5 separate regions of the Homo sapiens genome follow, and all the other regions are linked to region 1. The links are contacts of gene promoters, found by promoter capture Hi-C in blood cells and fetal thymus (Javierre and others, 2016). All regions are on one chromosome and are shown on one strand. Each heading gives the region's core, a stretch centred on a gene start or on the middle of the fragment in contact. The rest is flanking DNA. Distances are from core to core; before and after follow the strand shown.

Region 1 (2,700 bases), core at 43-2,542:
TGACCCCCTCCATTTTCTTCCCTGACCCCCAGGCTCTAAGGCAGACAGCTACTCCTTCACCTTGTAGCAGCTACCCCACTGCATTATTAATTTTTCATACCTATTTTCTTCTCTAGACCATAAGCAAGGATGCTGTTCCATTCATCCTGGTATTCTGAGTACCTAGCATATTTCAGATACCTGGTAAATGTTAAGTGAATTTGTGTAACTGTCTTATATATATAATGAATCTGCAATACCTCCCTTTTTTCTGAGACAGGGTCTTGGCTCTATTGCCCAGACTCACTGCAGCTTCAACTTCCCAGGCTCAAGAAAATCCTCCCACCTCAGCCTCCCAAGTAGCTGGGACTACAAGCATGCGCCACCACACCCAACTACCCAACTAATTTCTTTGTTTTTTGTACAGATGGTGTCTCACTATGTTGCCCAGGCTGGTCTTGAACTCCTGTGCTCAAGTGATCCTCCCGCCTAGGCCTCCCAAAATGCTGGGATTACAGGCATGAGCCACTGCACCCAGCCTCTGTAATACTCTTGATGGCTAACTGGATATTTCATTCATCATTATATCTAAAGAGCCTAGGATAGTGTCTGACACATAGCTGGTGTCGATAACTGTTTGTAAAAATAAGTTCCTTTTCCCAATCTGGGTGATATTTAATTTATGGCACTGTTAACCTCCTTTCCTCTCTTCTCCCTCTGACCCACAATAGGGCTCTATCTTTGCAGCTCAAACCTGTCTCCTTTTCACGACCACCCCTCATAAGCCAATATCTTGTCTGGCAGCACAGGGCACAATCTGCCACTAGGGCGTTAAGTTTGTGACACTGCCCGCCATTTCGTCCTAGCGGTTTACTTGGGGGTGGAATGTCTGAGAAAACCACAGCTCCCACGGGTCCCCACCTCGGTACAGAAGGGAGTGTCCCTGCTTCTCCCACCCCCACGGCTGACAGGCACCAAACCAGAGCTGGGACTGTCCCTGGCGGTGTCCAGGCCCCACCCTCTCTGTGTGCAGGTGGAAATGAAGGCCTGGGGGCGGGGGGAATGGAGGGAGGCATAAACTTCAAGGTCACACAGCGAACCCCGGTCAGAACGGGCCTAAACGTAGGGTTTCCGCTCGGCTCTCTAGGGAGCTGGGAGCCCAGCCCCCGCCTACCCCCACAGCCGCGACGGAATGAGGTCTCACCGCAGGCCGCTACTGCCCCGCGCTCGCTCACTCCGCTGAGGCTCCGCGCTGCTGGGCCGCTCGCACAGAGCCCGCAGCTGTTGTCCCGGTGTCACTGGCGACGGGCATCGGCCACTTCCGGTACCCGGGCGGCACTCCAGCCAATCGGCGCGCGTCGCACTCCGCTGGAGGAACAGGTGGTCAGCGCACCGACGCCCCCTTGCCTTTTCCGGCTTGCTTTTCGCCGGTTCTAGCCCTAGCCCAAGTTCCACGTCGCCGCCGCCTGCCGAGCCGGCTCCCTGGAACAGCAAAGTGCACCCGTCGATGCCCACTTCAGCCCCGGAATCATTGACGACCTGAGTCCTCCGGGTTTCCTAGAACGGCTCCGGGGATGAACTTCCGCTCCGCGATCTGCCGCTCTGCGCCCTCGTGTCGCTCCCCAAGCATTGCTCTAGGCTCAAGAACTCGAGAATCCGCTTCGCATTCCCGCGGGGACCGTTTGCGCGACCCTTTTAACTCTCCCAACCCGCATCGTTCTTATCCCATCCTTCCTTTCCACAGACTCCGTGGGTCTGATAAGCACAGGGCTGCAGATCCTGGGAACAGGTCTCTCCTCGGCGGGAGCGAAGGGAGACATGCTTTGAGTTCCGGAAGGGCTTGCAGGAGTGACGTTTGGCCTGAAATCTCAAGATTGCGTGGGAATTACCAAGGTTAAGAGTAAAGGCCTAGGTTAAGCTGCCGAGGCCACGGAAACAGCATTCTGCAGCTAGCCTTCCTGGGTTCCCTGAGCAAGCTTGGCCCATTCTCACCTCAGAACCTTTCCTTGTTACTTCCTCTGTAATTTTGCACAGCCAGCTTGTTTTCTTGTTTGTTTGTTTTTTGAGATGGAGTTTCGCTCTTGTTGTCCAGGCTGGAGTGCGATGGCGCCATCTCCGCTCACCGCAACCTCCGCCTCCCGGATTCAAGCGATTCTCCTACTTCAGCCTCCCCGAGTAACTGGGATTACAAGCATGTGCCACCACGCCCGGCTAATTTTGTATTTTAGGTAGAGACGGGTTTTCTCCATTTTGGTCAGGCTGGTCTCGAACTCCCGACCTCAGGTGATCCGGCCGCCTCGGCCTCCCAAAGTGCTGGGATTACAGACATGAGCCACCGCGCCCGGCCTCCAGCTTGTTTTTGTTTGTTTTTTGAGGCGGAGTTTCGCTCTTGTCGCCAAGGCTGGAGTGCAATGGCACGATCTCTGCTCACTGCAACCTCCACCTCCCGGGTTCAAGCGATTCTCCAGCCTCAGCCTCCAGAGTAGCTGGGATTACAAGTGCCAGCCACCACGCCCGGCTAATTTTTGTATTTTTAGTAGAGACGGGGTTTCACCATGTTGGTCAGGCTGGTCTCGAACTTCTGACCTTAGGTCAGACCTTAGGCCCACCTTGGCCTCCCAAAGTGCTGGGATTACAGGCGTGAGCTACCGCGTCCAGCCAGCCAGTTTGTTTTTAGGTGTCAGTTCCAAGATCACCACATTGAAGACTTTCATTCTATAT
Region 2 (2,700 bases), core at 195-2,694, 280 kb before region 1:
AGGTTCACATTCACTGTGATTAACTAGCTAGCTCCTTTCTCTGTCACAATTACCTGGAATACCCAAGGCAGACTATGACAAGGGTCAGGTGACACACGTTAATATCCACTTGCTGGCAACATGTGCCTGCACTGACTCCAGGAACCGTCTGTTGAATGAACGCTAAATCCCAGAGCTTCCCAGTGTGCCTCAGCGTGAGCAAGAGGAAAAACGTGAGAAAGGTAACTCACCTCTTTCTGCAAGAGATTCCATTCTGTTTCACTAACTAAACGATAACCACTAGGGGACACATAGGCACTCTCCATGCCCTGGGTAACGCTGGAGAGGAGGGACGCTGTCTCTTCTTGTTCTGGTGTCATCGCCTTGATTGCTCTTTCCTGATCTTTGGTTAACATAAACCCACTTGGCATCTGGAGTGACCCAAGGGATGCAGTATCAAAGTTCTCAGACACTGAATCTGCTCCTACCAGTGGTCCAAAATCTGACTCGTCCAGGTTTCCAGCAGATTTTGCTTTGTAGTTATAGCCTAAAGCTTTGGATTGCAATGAGCCCGAGGTTCCCAAGCTGTCTGTAGACTGTGCTCTCCTGAGTCCATCTTTAAACATGTCATTGTCCGATTTACTGAAAGGATCTCCAGATGGCAACAGCAAGCCTGCATCTAAGGAATGAACTGAGCCACGGGTGCTGTCTAAATGCTCCTGAAATGTGAAAATACATATGGCCAAGTTAGACAATTCTCTGCGTTTTTAAAGACAAAAACTATAATAAATGTATTCCGCCACTCATTACACATGATAATCATTAATGTGCTACCTTCACAGACTCATTGAACAAACACTAAGTGTCATTTCTACATGCTGGACACAAAACCAGGCCCTCAGGATACAACTGTGAGCAAGATATAATCCCTGACCTCGAGATACATACGGCTTCAAAAAAAAAAAAGATAAGTAAGCAGACTGTTATAATACTGTGATAAAAGGATGGGCTGGAGCTATGTGCTGAATGCTCTGGTAGCTCAAAGAGCTCCCAAATACGAACAGTTGAGGAACGTCACCTGCAATTCAGTGTGGCGTGTGTCAAGCGCGAGGTGCCTATCATGAATCCAAGCAGAGATATTCCCTTGACAGAGGGACACAGAAGTCTTTCGATAGAGACTTGAGAGTAACTATCGTATAATGATAATTAAAGTCACAGCAGCAAATCAGAACACGTAGGATGAGTGTGTAGGCAAAGAGGGCCAAGGGCAGAACCCTGAGAAAGATTAACATCTTGGGGATGAGCAAAGGAGAAGCCAGAGTAGTGGAAAGGAAATGACGAGAACGTAGTATTTTCTTTTTTTCTGAGACGGAGTCTCGCTCTGTCGCCCAGGCTGGAGTGCAGTGGCGCGATCTCCGCTCACTGCAAGCTCCGCCTCCCGGGCTCACGCCATTCTCCTGCCTCAGCCTCCCAAGTAGCTGGGACTACAGGTGCCCGCCACCTCGCCCGGCTAATGTTTTCTATTTTTAGTAGAGATGGGGTTTCACCATGTTGGCCAGGATGGTCTCGCTCTCCTGACCTCGTGATCCCCCGACCTCAGCCTCCCAAAGTGCTGGGATTACAGGCGTGAGCCACCGCACCCGGCCCAAGAATGTGGTATTTTCCAGCAAGGTGTAATCAACATGTTCAATGTTGTATACTATGCGAAAGCAGATGCAAAAAGTCACATATTATGTAATTCCATCTATTTAAAATGTCCAGAACAAGTAAATCCATAGAGCCATAAAGCAAGTTAGTGGTTACTAGAGGCTAGGGCAAAGGGAAAATGGCGAGTGACTCTAATGGGTTATGAGGTCTCCTTTGGGAGTGATAAAAATGTTTTCAAACTAAAAACATTTGTGTATATATGCAATGCCACTGAATTGTACACTTTAAATTTTATGTTACATGAATTTTATCTCAATTTTTAAACAACGTGGTACAGCACATTCCTGAAGGCAAAAAGCAAACCAGTGCCATTACATGAAGCAGTTGCATAGTTAGTGGGAAATAAGAAAAATGATTTAAAGAAAAATGTAACAAGTTTTCCTTCCAACTAAATTTATTCCATTTAAATGACAATGTTTTAAGATAATATCCTTTCTACGTTTTGTTGTTAAACGCCCTGTTTTAAATGAACCAGAGGAGACTGTGGAATACAGTTGTTGTTACTGGCAAGCTCATGTAACCTATTTTTTTTAATGTTTTAAAAATATTCTTGGTGTAATAAAAAGGTGACAAATTTTGAGTTAATGCCTCCATTTCTTTCCTTTTAAAGATTGTTACTCATCTGAAACTGCAATGGCTAAGAACACAAATCTCGTATATATTAAGCTTACTATGGCAAAGATCCCAAGTAAGTATCCTAATAAAAACTGGGATAAGCCATTCTGTTAGTTTACAAATAACCCTAACACCCACTGCTATGTATCATATACAGTGCTGCTGTGATACTGAAGAGGGAAGGGGCTAGGGATAGAACAGTTGTGAGGGCCATTTGAAAAACATCAGACTGGCTGGGCGCAGTGGCTCACACCCGTAATCCCAGCACTTTGGGAGGCCGAGGCGGGCAGATCACAAGGTCAGGAGATCAAGACCATTCTGGCTAGCATGGTGAAACCCCGTCTCTATTAAAAATTACAAAAAATTAGCCAGGCGTGGTGGCAGGTGCCTGTAGTCCCA
Region 3 (2,700 bases), core at 54-2,553, 330 kb before region 1:
GCAAGATTTTTGCAAAGAAATAGTTGTGATAAGTGTTAGAAAATTCTCAAGAACTGACTAGATGGAGAGGAAAGTGCAGTTTTGGGAAATGAAAACAGAATTTTAAGTGCTGGTTTTCTTCTCTTTTGGTTGCTAGAATTTACTCACTACGTGAGCCGCAGACACCCACTAACGTGATAATACTTTCAGAAGCCGAAGAGGAAAGTCTAGTACTCAATAAAGGGTAAGTTTTTATTTGAGTCTTGAAATGGTTTTTTAATTAGCTTATTGGGATTATAAATGCAATTTTAACAGGTTGCAAGGTTTTTCAGAGGTGACTAGCATGCTTTTGGTAATGTGAGAAGTAAGTGTATTTTTAGTAGAACAGGGATTCGTCGTGTTGGCCAGGCTGGTCTGGAACTCCTAGGCTCAAGTGATCCTGCTCGTCTCAGCCTCCCCAAAGTGCTGGAATTACAGGCCTGAGCCACCATTCATTTCTTTATCACCTTTCTATGTGATAAAGAAACTAAGATAATATCTTGCATTGATGTTTGCTCTCTCAACTATATGAAATTGTGATTTCATTTTAACCATATTTGTTAACTTTGTATTGAACTAGAATCTTCCTGAATAACTACAGTAAATTTTAAATATAAAAACAGCATGGTTTTATGATTTGCCTTCTTGATATACATGTAATGTATATTTGCTGTAGAAAATTGAGAAAAATAGATCAAAGTATTAGGAAGAAAATGAAAATCTTTGTAATCTCCTATAGCTATAGCCTGTTTCAATACAGCACCCAAAGTTTAATCACATCATTCTACTTTAATCTAAGTTTAATCAGATCAGTTTAATCAGATCATTCTACTTCCCTGCTCTCCATACCCCATTGATTTCCCAGAGTCTTTACCTATAAAGGGTCCACAGGTATGCCACCTGATTGCCTTTCCAGCTTCATTCCTCCCTCTGTGCCCTGGCTCTCTGGGCTCCAGGCACCTTGGCCTCCTTGCCATTCCACAGACATTAAGCACTTCTACCTTAGAGCATTTGCTCTCCACCTCAACTGCTCCTTCCCTAGTTAACCACAGACTTGCTCTCTTACTTCCTTCAGATCTTTGCTCAAATATCTTATCAGAGTCTTTCCTATACCAAGTAGTCTAAAGTAGCACCTCCATCAATACCCTCTTACCCTACTTTATTTTTCATGATATTTTCTGAGTTTATGTTCCATCTTTATTTCTTCTCTTTTTGTGGTATTTCTCTCTCTAGAGGGCAGGACATTTGTTTAATTCACTGACATATTCCCAGACCCTAGAAAAGTACCTGGCACAGAGTAGGTGCTTTGCGAGTATTTGTAGAACTTACGGATCCTGCTGCTCAGAGACAACTGTTGATGTTTTCATGTGTTTTCCTGTTTCCTTTTTGCATTTATGTGTGTGTATATAATAAATTTTTGCTATTTGTATATCTGTGTATTTAAACTATTTAAGATGAGAGTAGAACCAAATAATTTTATGGCCAGCTTTTTTCACTTAATTTCATGAGAATTTTTTTTTTTTTTTTTTTTTTGAGACGGAGTTTCGCTCTTGTCGCCCAGGCTGGAGTGCAATGGCACAATCTCGGCTCACTGCAACCTCCGCCTCCCAGGTTCAAGCAATTCTCCTGCCTTAGCCTCCCAAGTAGCTGGGACTACAGGCACCTGCCACCACGCCCAACTAATTTTTGTATTTTTAGTAGAAACGGGGTTTCACCATGTTGGCCAGGCTGGTCTCGAACTCCTGACCTCAGGTGATCCACCCACCTCGGCCTCCCAAATTGCTGGGATTACAGGCATGAGCCACTGCACCCAGCTGAGAATTTTTAAATGTTAACATTCTTCATAATCATTTTTTGTCTTTTCAGTCCATTGCCTACAAATTCCATACATACCCACCTCCTGTTATTAGACATTTTGTGTTTTTGTTTTGTTTTGTTTTTCTTTTTACTTTTTGTTGTTTTTGTTTTTAACAAGTTGGTTTTTACATCTCTTTCCAGAAGGGCGTATACCGCATCTCTAGGAGAGACAGCAGTTGCATTTGACTTTGGGCCATTGGCAGCAGTCCCAAAGACTCTATTTGGACAAAACGGCAAAGATGAAGTAGTGGCATACCCACTGTACATCTTATATGAAAATGGAGAGACTTTCCTGACATACATCAGTCTGTTACACAGGTAAGTTGAGGTGGTCACCCACCTGAAATGAAAACTCAGTTTGGGCTCCAGTAGATATCATTGAGGCTGGACTTGGGAGCCATGTTTTTGAGTCTGTGGAAATGTTGCAGCCTTCACATGCTTGGCTTGCATATTTTTGAGAAAGAGTTAGTACAGGTCATTTGGCCTTTCATTTCTTCATATTATTTGGGTAAGTTCTATAGAATTCTTGGATAATCACTTATGATAGGCCTGGATTTGTGTTCACAAATTCTAGTTATCCGAACAAGTGCTTATTGTTTATCTTATATGAACAAGACACCACGTAGGCGTGGTAATCTGGTATCTTATGTCCCAGTTGTGGGGAGAAAGATACATACACATGAAAAAATACTATCCATACCACAGTATTGGTACACAGACAGTAAGAACCCCGAGGAAGGAGAGATCATTCTGACTGGGAGGTTAAGGAAATTTTCGTAGAGAAGGAGTGGTGTCATGTGTGACTTAAAGGTCTCATTCAGGATT
Region 4 (2,700 bases), core at 103-2,602, 380 kb before region 1:
AAGTGATGCATATGGGATTTAAAGTTTTAAAAAGTCAAGTAGTTTATAGTAAAAGGTTTATAATAAAAGAATAGCAGTTGTTTTTACTTCAACATCCCAGATTTCTGCTGTTTAGGGCACCTACTTTCAATCTCTACATATTGCTTTCATGTTTCTAAACTACCTTGCTTTGACCACTATTTTTTGAGTTATGGGTATCAGGCATCATATGCTAATTTCTTACCATGGTGACAAAAGTTTAGAATGCCCCTCCCCAACCCCCTTTATCTCCAACCTCTTGACAGTTCTATCATGTTTTTGTTTAGGTTTTTGTTTTTGAGGCAGGATCTTGCTGTGTTGCCCAGGCTGGTCGTGAACTCCCGGGCTCAATCAGTCCTCCCACCTCAGCATTGGGAGTAGCTAGGACTACATGCTTGCACACCTGTGTCTGGCCTATTATGATGTTTTCTGAGTCCAGTATCAATACTAAGAATATTATGACCACACATTGCTAGTAGCACACCATCATCCCTGTACCTTGTTTCTTGAACAACACAGTTGTGCAAGCTTTCTGGGTAGCTCTGGCTCATTTTCTCCCAAATATTCCAACATCTCATATGCCAGTCGTGTATAGTTCTGTGTTCAAGCACAGTCTGTCTTTTCAGAGTCCTTTATGCTGCTGTTCCAGTTGGGGCAGGTGGCTCTCCTGGGCCTTTGTGCAGCTGTCATCTTGACTCTTCACTTTGTCACCATTTTCCCGTGGTGAGACCCATGGCTTCCCAGTCTCCTGGCCGTCCTGGGTAGGAGAGGGAACTGAAGGCTTTAACTACTCTATACTCAGACTTTGAACCAATCCCTGAGTTTTCACTCTCCCACAACATAATTTGTAGTTTCCTCCCTCTAGCCAAGTCATCCAGCCCCTTTCCCCTCTCTTCCAAAATGAGTTGAGACTCCTCATCTCTCATTGCCTTTTCTTTCTAAGACAGTGGCCTTTACTGTCGTTTTCATAGTGTTTGGGGAAGAAGTCTGCCTTGTTCAGCTGCAGAAAGCAAACGAGAATTTTTCATGAATGATGGCTGCTGGTGCATTAGGTTACCACTGGCTTTGATGAATTCTCCCACTCATGAGGTTTTGACTGTTTTAGATTTTATCCTGTCTGTGTATCCCTCTGCACATTTGTTCTGTTAATACTGGGCTGAAAAAAAATACATATTAAAAAATACGTATTTTTACATATATACATAAATATACATATAATTATTAAAATTTTTTTCTATTTATTTTGCCATTAGGCACTTTTTTTTTTTTTTTTTGAGATGGAGTCTCACTGTGTCGCCCAGGCTGGAGTGCAGTGACACGAGCTCGGCTCACTGCAACCTCTACCTCCCAGGTCCAAGTGATTCTTGTGCCTCAGCCTCCTGAGTATCTGGGATCACACCTAGCTAACTTTTGTATTTTTAATAGAGATGGGATTTCACTGTGTTGGACAGGCTGGTCTCAAACTGCTGACCTCAACCCATTTGCCTGCCTCAGCCTCCCAAAGTGCTGGGGTTACAGGCATGAGCCACTGCGCCCAGTCCATCAAGCACTTCATTTTATTTATTTATTTTTTGAGATGGAGTCTTGCTCTGTCGCCCAGGTTGGAGTGCAGTGATGCAATCTCGGCTCACTGCAACCTCCGCCTCCCATGTTCAAGTGATTCTCCTGCCTCAGCCTCCTGAGTAGCTGGGATTACAGGCGTGCGCCACCACGCCTGGCTAATTTTTTGTATTTTTAGTAGAGACAGGGTTTCACCATGTTGGTCAAGCTGGTCTCGAACTCCTGACCTCAGGTGATCTGGCCGCCTCGGCCTCCCAAAGTGTTAAGCACTTTACATCAAACAAATTAATGTATCTGATCAGAAATCAAAGAAAAATCAGGGCATTAGGTATGTCATTCACACTTGGGTGTTGTTCCATTTGAAAGTGAGGAACCCCATTAACCTCAGTATCTCAAGCAGTTGTCCGAGTATAGTGTGTGTTTTGGGGCGTGTGAAAGCGCTTTCGACGGCGTCATTCATTAAAGGCTCCTTCTCCAGCATGGCTGCGCCTGTTCATTTCCATAGATTAGGATTTCCCCAAGTTTCCTTCTGTTTTGTCAACTTCATTTTTCAAGATGCTTATAAAAGAAAGGAAGCTTCATGCAGATTTTATTTGCTTGCCTGATTATGCTTTTCATGGTATTGTTCTTGTTAGAAAAATCAATCTGATGATTTCCCTTCAAAATTTCATCACTTGGCCTATAAACATAGCTGGCTAACTCCTATATATTACAGTTTTGTTTTTTGTGTTTTTGAGTCAGGTTCTCGTTCTGTCGCCCAGGCTGGAGTGGAGTGGCAAGCAGCTGGAACTATAGGCATGTGTCACCACCCCTGACCAATTTAAAAAAAAGTGTTTTGTAGAGATGGGATCTTGCTGCGTTGCCCAGGCTGGTCACAAACTCCTGGCTGCAAACGATCCTCCCGCCTCAGCCTCCCAAAGTGCTGGGTTTACAGGCGTGAGCCATCACACCCAGCCTGTTACCATTTACACACTGCTGGTAAGGGTTCTCTCCAAGCTAGACATCAACTTTTAGGCTCATTTACATTTCTATAGTTAAGAGAAATAACTCTGGGAAACATCATCAATCACCATTGTCTTTTTCTGTGCAAGCTGCAATTCTATCAATGCCTAGTAAACCCAC
Region 5 (2,700 bases), core at 97-2,596, 360 kb before region 1:
TATCTAAATGATATAAGCTGGCTTCTTGTCCCCAGAAAAATGATGTTCCATTAGAACTTGGATGCAAGGTTGGAGGTGCAGAGAGGGAAGGTCACAAAAATTAATCATGGATCCTGCCCTTGAGGATGTCACAGTCTGGTTGGGTTTAACCTGGTTAAAGCAGCAACGCTAGGAGGTTCCTGTTGAAAAGAGAATGAAGCATATGGGCTGGGTGCGCACAAGCATGAGTTCCGAGCCGGTGGAAAAAAAGGTTCTAGAAGGCCTCTTTCAGGAAAACCCTCAGACTTTCCTTTGCTCTCACAACACAACAATCAACACAGAAGACTTATGTGGCCAAAGGTTTGGGTTTTTCCCCTCCACACTAAGCAGCAGACACCAGCTGGGTGTCCTCCAATTCAATCCCAACAGTATCTACCTGGAGATAGTGTCAGATCCCATAGGTTGAGGGCTCAGTCCCCAAGACCGCCCCCACCTTCAGACAGCAATGGCAAGTCTGGGCCTCTGAAACTTCCGACCAACCCGCTTCAAGTTGGGGTTCCCACGACCCCCCTCTTTGGATTATGTTAACTCACTGGAGCAGTTCACAGAACTCAGGGAAACACATTCACCGGTTTCATATAAAGGATATGACCAAGGATACAGATGAGATGAGCAGGGTGGGGAATGGGGAAGAAGCTCCGAGGTTCCTTGCCTACCCTGGGCCACCACCCTCCAGGAACCTCTACGTATTCAGCTGTCAGAGGCTCTGCAAACCCTCTCCTCTTGGGTTTTTATGGAAGCTTCTGGACATCAGCATCCCTTCCCCCAGGGTATATGGTGGGACCTTCTCTGGGAAGGGACTTAAGACCCATAATCAGAAATGTGGAAGGAGATTAGAGTCCTGCTTTGGGGCAGGTAAAAGGAGGGCAGGAGAAGGGGAGAGTCTGTTTCCTGAGGCCTAACACACCCAACATTATCACAGAACATTGTAACAAGGGCTATAGGAGTTACGACCCAGGAACTGTGGATGAAAACCAATACATATATATATCATAACACCACAGCCTCCTAGAGGAAAGTGACCGTGGAAGGGTCTGGTGAGAGCTGGCGGGAGACAAGAGTGCATTCCACGCAGCCCAAAAGCCTTGCGTGCTTTGAGAACAGCAGGTGGAAAGTGGGTAAGCGGCCACTAGAGGGAATTAAACAGCTTCGGACAGCGGACTCGGCAGCGCAGCAAGAAAGCTCCGGAATCCGGATTCGAGGCTTCCCGGGCTGCACCGGAGTCTCCAGCAGAGGGCGCGATTCCGCCCGCTGGCCTTAGGTCGTCAGAGCGCCGGCGCGGGAAGCGCTTCCGGGCAGGGGCGGGGCTTCCGGCGGCGCCTCAGGTCGCGGGGCGCCTAGGCCTGGGTTGTCCTTTGCATCTGCACGTGTTCGCAGTCGTTTCCGCGATGCTGCCTCTGCTGCGCTGCGTGCCCCGTGTGCTGGGCTCCTCCGTCGCCGGCCTCCGCGCTGCCGCGCCCGCCTCGCCTTTCCGGCAGCTCCTGCAGCCGGCACCCCGGCTGTGCACCCGGCCCTTCGGGCTGCTCAGCGTGCGCGCAGGTTCCGAGCGGCGGCCGGGCCTCCTGCGGCCTCGCGGACCCTGCGCCTGTGGCTGTGGCTGCGGCTCGCTGCACACCGACGGTGAGGTTTAGCGGGCCGGGGGTGTGGTTTGCGTTCAACAGAGGGAAAACGTAGACCAGGAATAGGGCCTGCAACCGACCTCTGAGGTCTGGGACATTTTTCCATTGATTGGCAACCAGCGGGCTAAACCCACGTATGATCATATTTCCCCCACCTCCCCTATCCAGCAGTTTCGTTTTCTTTTGGTAGGGGGTGAATAAAATTAAATACTAGGGTACCTTTTTCCTTAGTCTTATTCTATCGAAAGTGGACCTTTGGGAAGGCCCATGGTCGTGGTTGAAAATAGCATAGTTATATCGTTTGGCAAGTGGAAGAGGATTGGAAATTCTCCTGGTTTATAGCGGAAAGTGGTAATGCGTTCATTGTTGGAAATCACTTTTCCAGAATCAGGCTCAGCTTCCTACTACTATTATGGTATTTTTACCGATAAGGAAACAGGCTTCTAGAGTAACCGTAATAGCAGAGAGATTAGAAACAGTCCAGGTTTCTGGCTGCAATAACCTGGGTAATAGTTTTATGTTTTAGACTAACTGGCTTTCCTTTTTATGTATCTGGATTTCTTTTCTAGGAGACAAAGCTTTTGTTGATTTCCTGAGTGATGAAATTAAGGAGGAAAGAAAAATTCAGAAGCATAAAACCCTCCCTAAGATGTCTGGAGGTTGGGAGCTGGAACTGAATGGGACAGAAGCGAAATTAGTGCGGAAAGTTGCCGGGGAAAAGTAAGTACTGGTCTGGGGATCCCAGGGCAGCAACTCCCTTAACCTTGCAGGACCCATCCTGGGTCATCCCCAGAAGAGCCTTGAGTTCAGGTGTGGATACTTTGATAAATGGGTTTCAAGAGAGTGAAGGATTCATTTGGACAACTTCGTAAGCCCCAGGCAGTCCATTCACCGAACACAAATTTGCTGTGGGCTGGTTACTAAGGAGACAAAAATGTAGTGCAAAAAAGTACTGGCAGAATCAGTTTGATCTCTGATTTACAGCCCTGATAAAATAGGACACTGCTCTCTAATGTTTAGTATGGGTGAAAATGAAAAATAT

What was found. The method cuts DNA at HindIII sites, captures the fragments that hold promoters and counts their contacts. A CHiCAGO score of 5 or more calls a contact.
Region 2: a fragment that was not itself captured here is called in contact with the fragment with the promoter of ZFP3 in region 1 in 2 of 17 cell types (total B cells and naive B cells); the score reaches 6.7 in total B cells.
Region 3: a contact is called between a fragment that was not itself captured here and the fragment with the promoter of ZFP3 in region 1, in 1 of 17 cell types (naive B cells). The highest score is 5.5, in naive B cells.
Region 4: a fragment that was not itself captured here is called in contact with the fragment with the promoter of ZFP3 in region 1 in 2 of 17 cell types (total B cells and naive B cells); the score reaches 6.7 in total B cells.
Region 5: the fragment with the promoter of C1QBP here is called in contact with the fragment with the promoter of ZFP3 in region 1 in 1 of 17 cell types (naive B cells); the score reaches 5.6 in naive B cells.

Annotation. Positions count from the first base shown.
Region 1 is chr17:5,077,059-5,079,758 of GRCh38, reverse strand. It overlaps ZFP3 (ZFP3 zinc finger protein), which reads right to left and starts at 1,292. Exons shown (of 2, transcript NM_153018.3): 1 at 1,184-1,292. ZFP3-DT (ZFP3 divergent transcript) reads left to right here and starts at 1,646. Exons shown (of 2, transcript NR_186458.1): 1 at 1,646-1,872. RefSeq lists enhancers at 1,516-1,585, 953-1,824. The HindIII fragment of the contact is 11,376 bases long and covers 1-1,957 here.
Region 2 is chr17:5,359,206-5,361,905 of GRCh38, reverse strand. It overlaps RABEP1 (rabaptin, RAB GTPase binding effector protein 1), which reads right to left. Exons shown (of 18, transcript NM_004703.6): 9 at 231-698. LOC105371505 (a long non-coding RNA gene) reads left to right here. Exons shown (of 2, transcript XR_934178.3): 1 at 1-221; 2 at 822-1,299. Among named protein-coding and RNA genes, the nearest start is that of NUP88, 59 kb to the left of the region's middle. RefSeq lists an enhancer at 1-24. The HindIII fragment of the contact is 1,820 bases long and covers 535-2,354 here.
Region 3 is chr17:5,408,226-5,410,925 of GRCh38, reverse strand. NUP88 (nucleoporin 88) reads left to right here. Exons shown (of 17, transcript NM_002532.6): 4 at 137-223; 5 at 2,017-2,193. Among named protein-coding and RNA genes, the nearest start is that of NUP88, 10 kb to the left of the region's middle. The HindIII fragment of the contact is 2,979 bases long and covers 1-2,700 here.
Region 4 is chr17:5,456,199-5,458,898 of GRCh38, reverse strand. The region is part of intron 4 of DHX33 (DEAH-box helicase 33); the gene reads left to right. Among named protein-coding and RNA genes, the nearest start is that of DHX33, 11 kb to the left of the region's middle. The HindIII fragment of the contact is 1,608 bases long and covers 549-2,156 here.
Region 5 is chr17:5,437,801-5,440,500 of GRCh38, reverse strand. C1QBP (complement C1q binding protein) reads left to right here and starts at 1,346. Exons shown (of 6, transcript NM_001212.4): 1 at 1,346-1,659; 2 at 2,228-2,378. The coding sequence starts at 1,428. RefSeq lists an enhancer at 950-1,129 and silencers at 1,189-1,371, 1,350-1,519, 1,630-1,679. The HindIII fragment of the contact is 1,457 bases long and covers 782-2,238 here.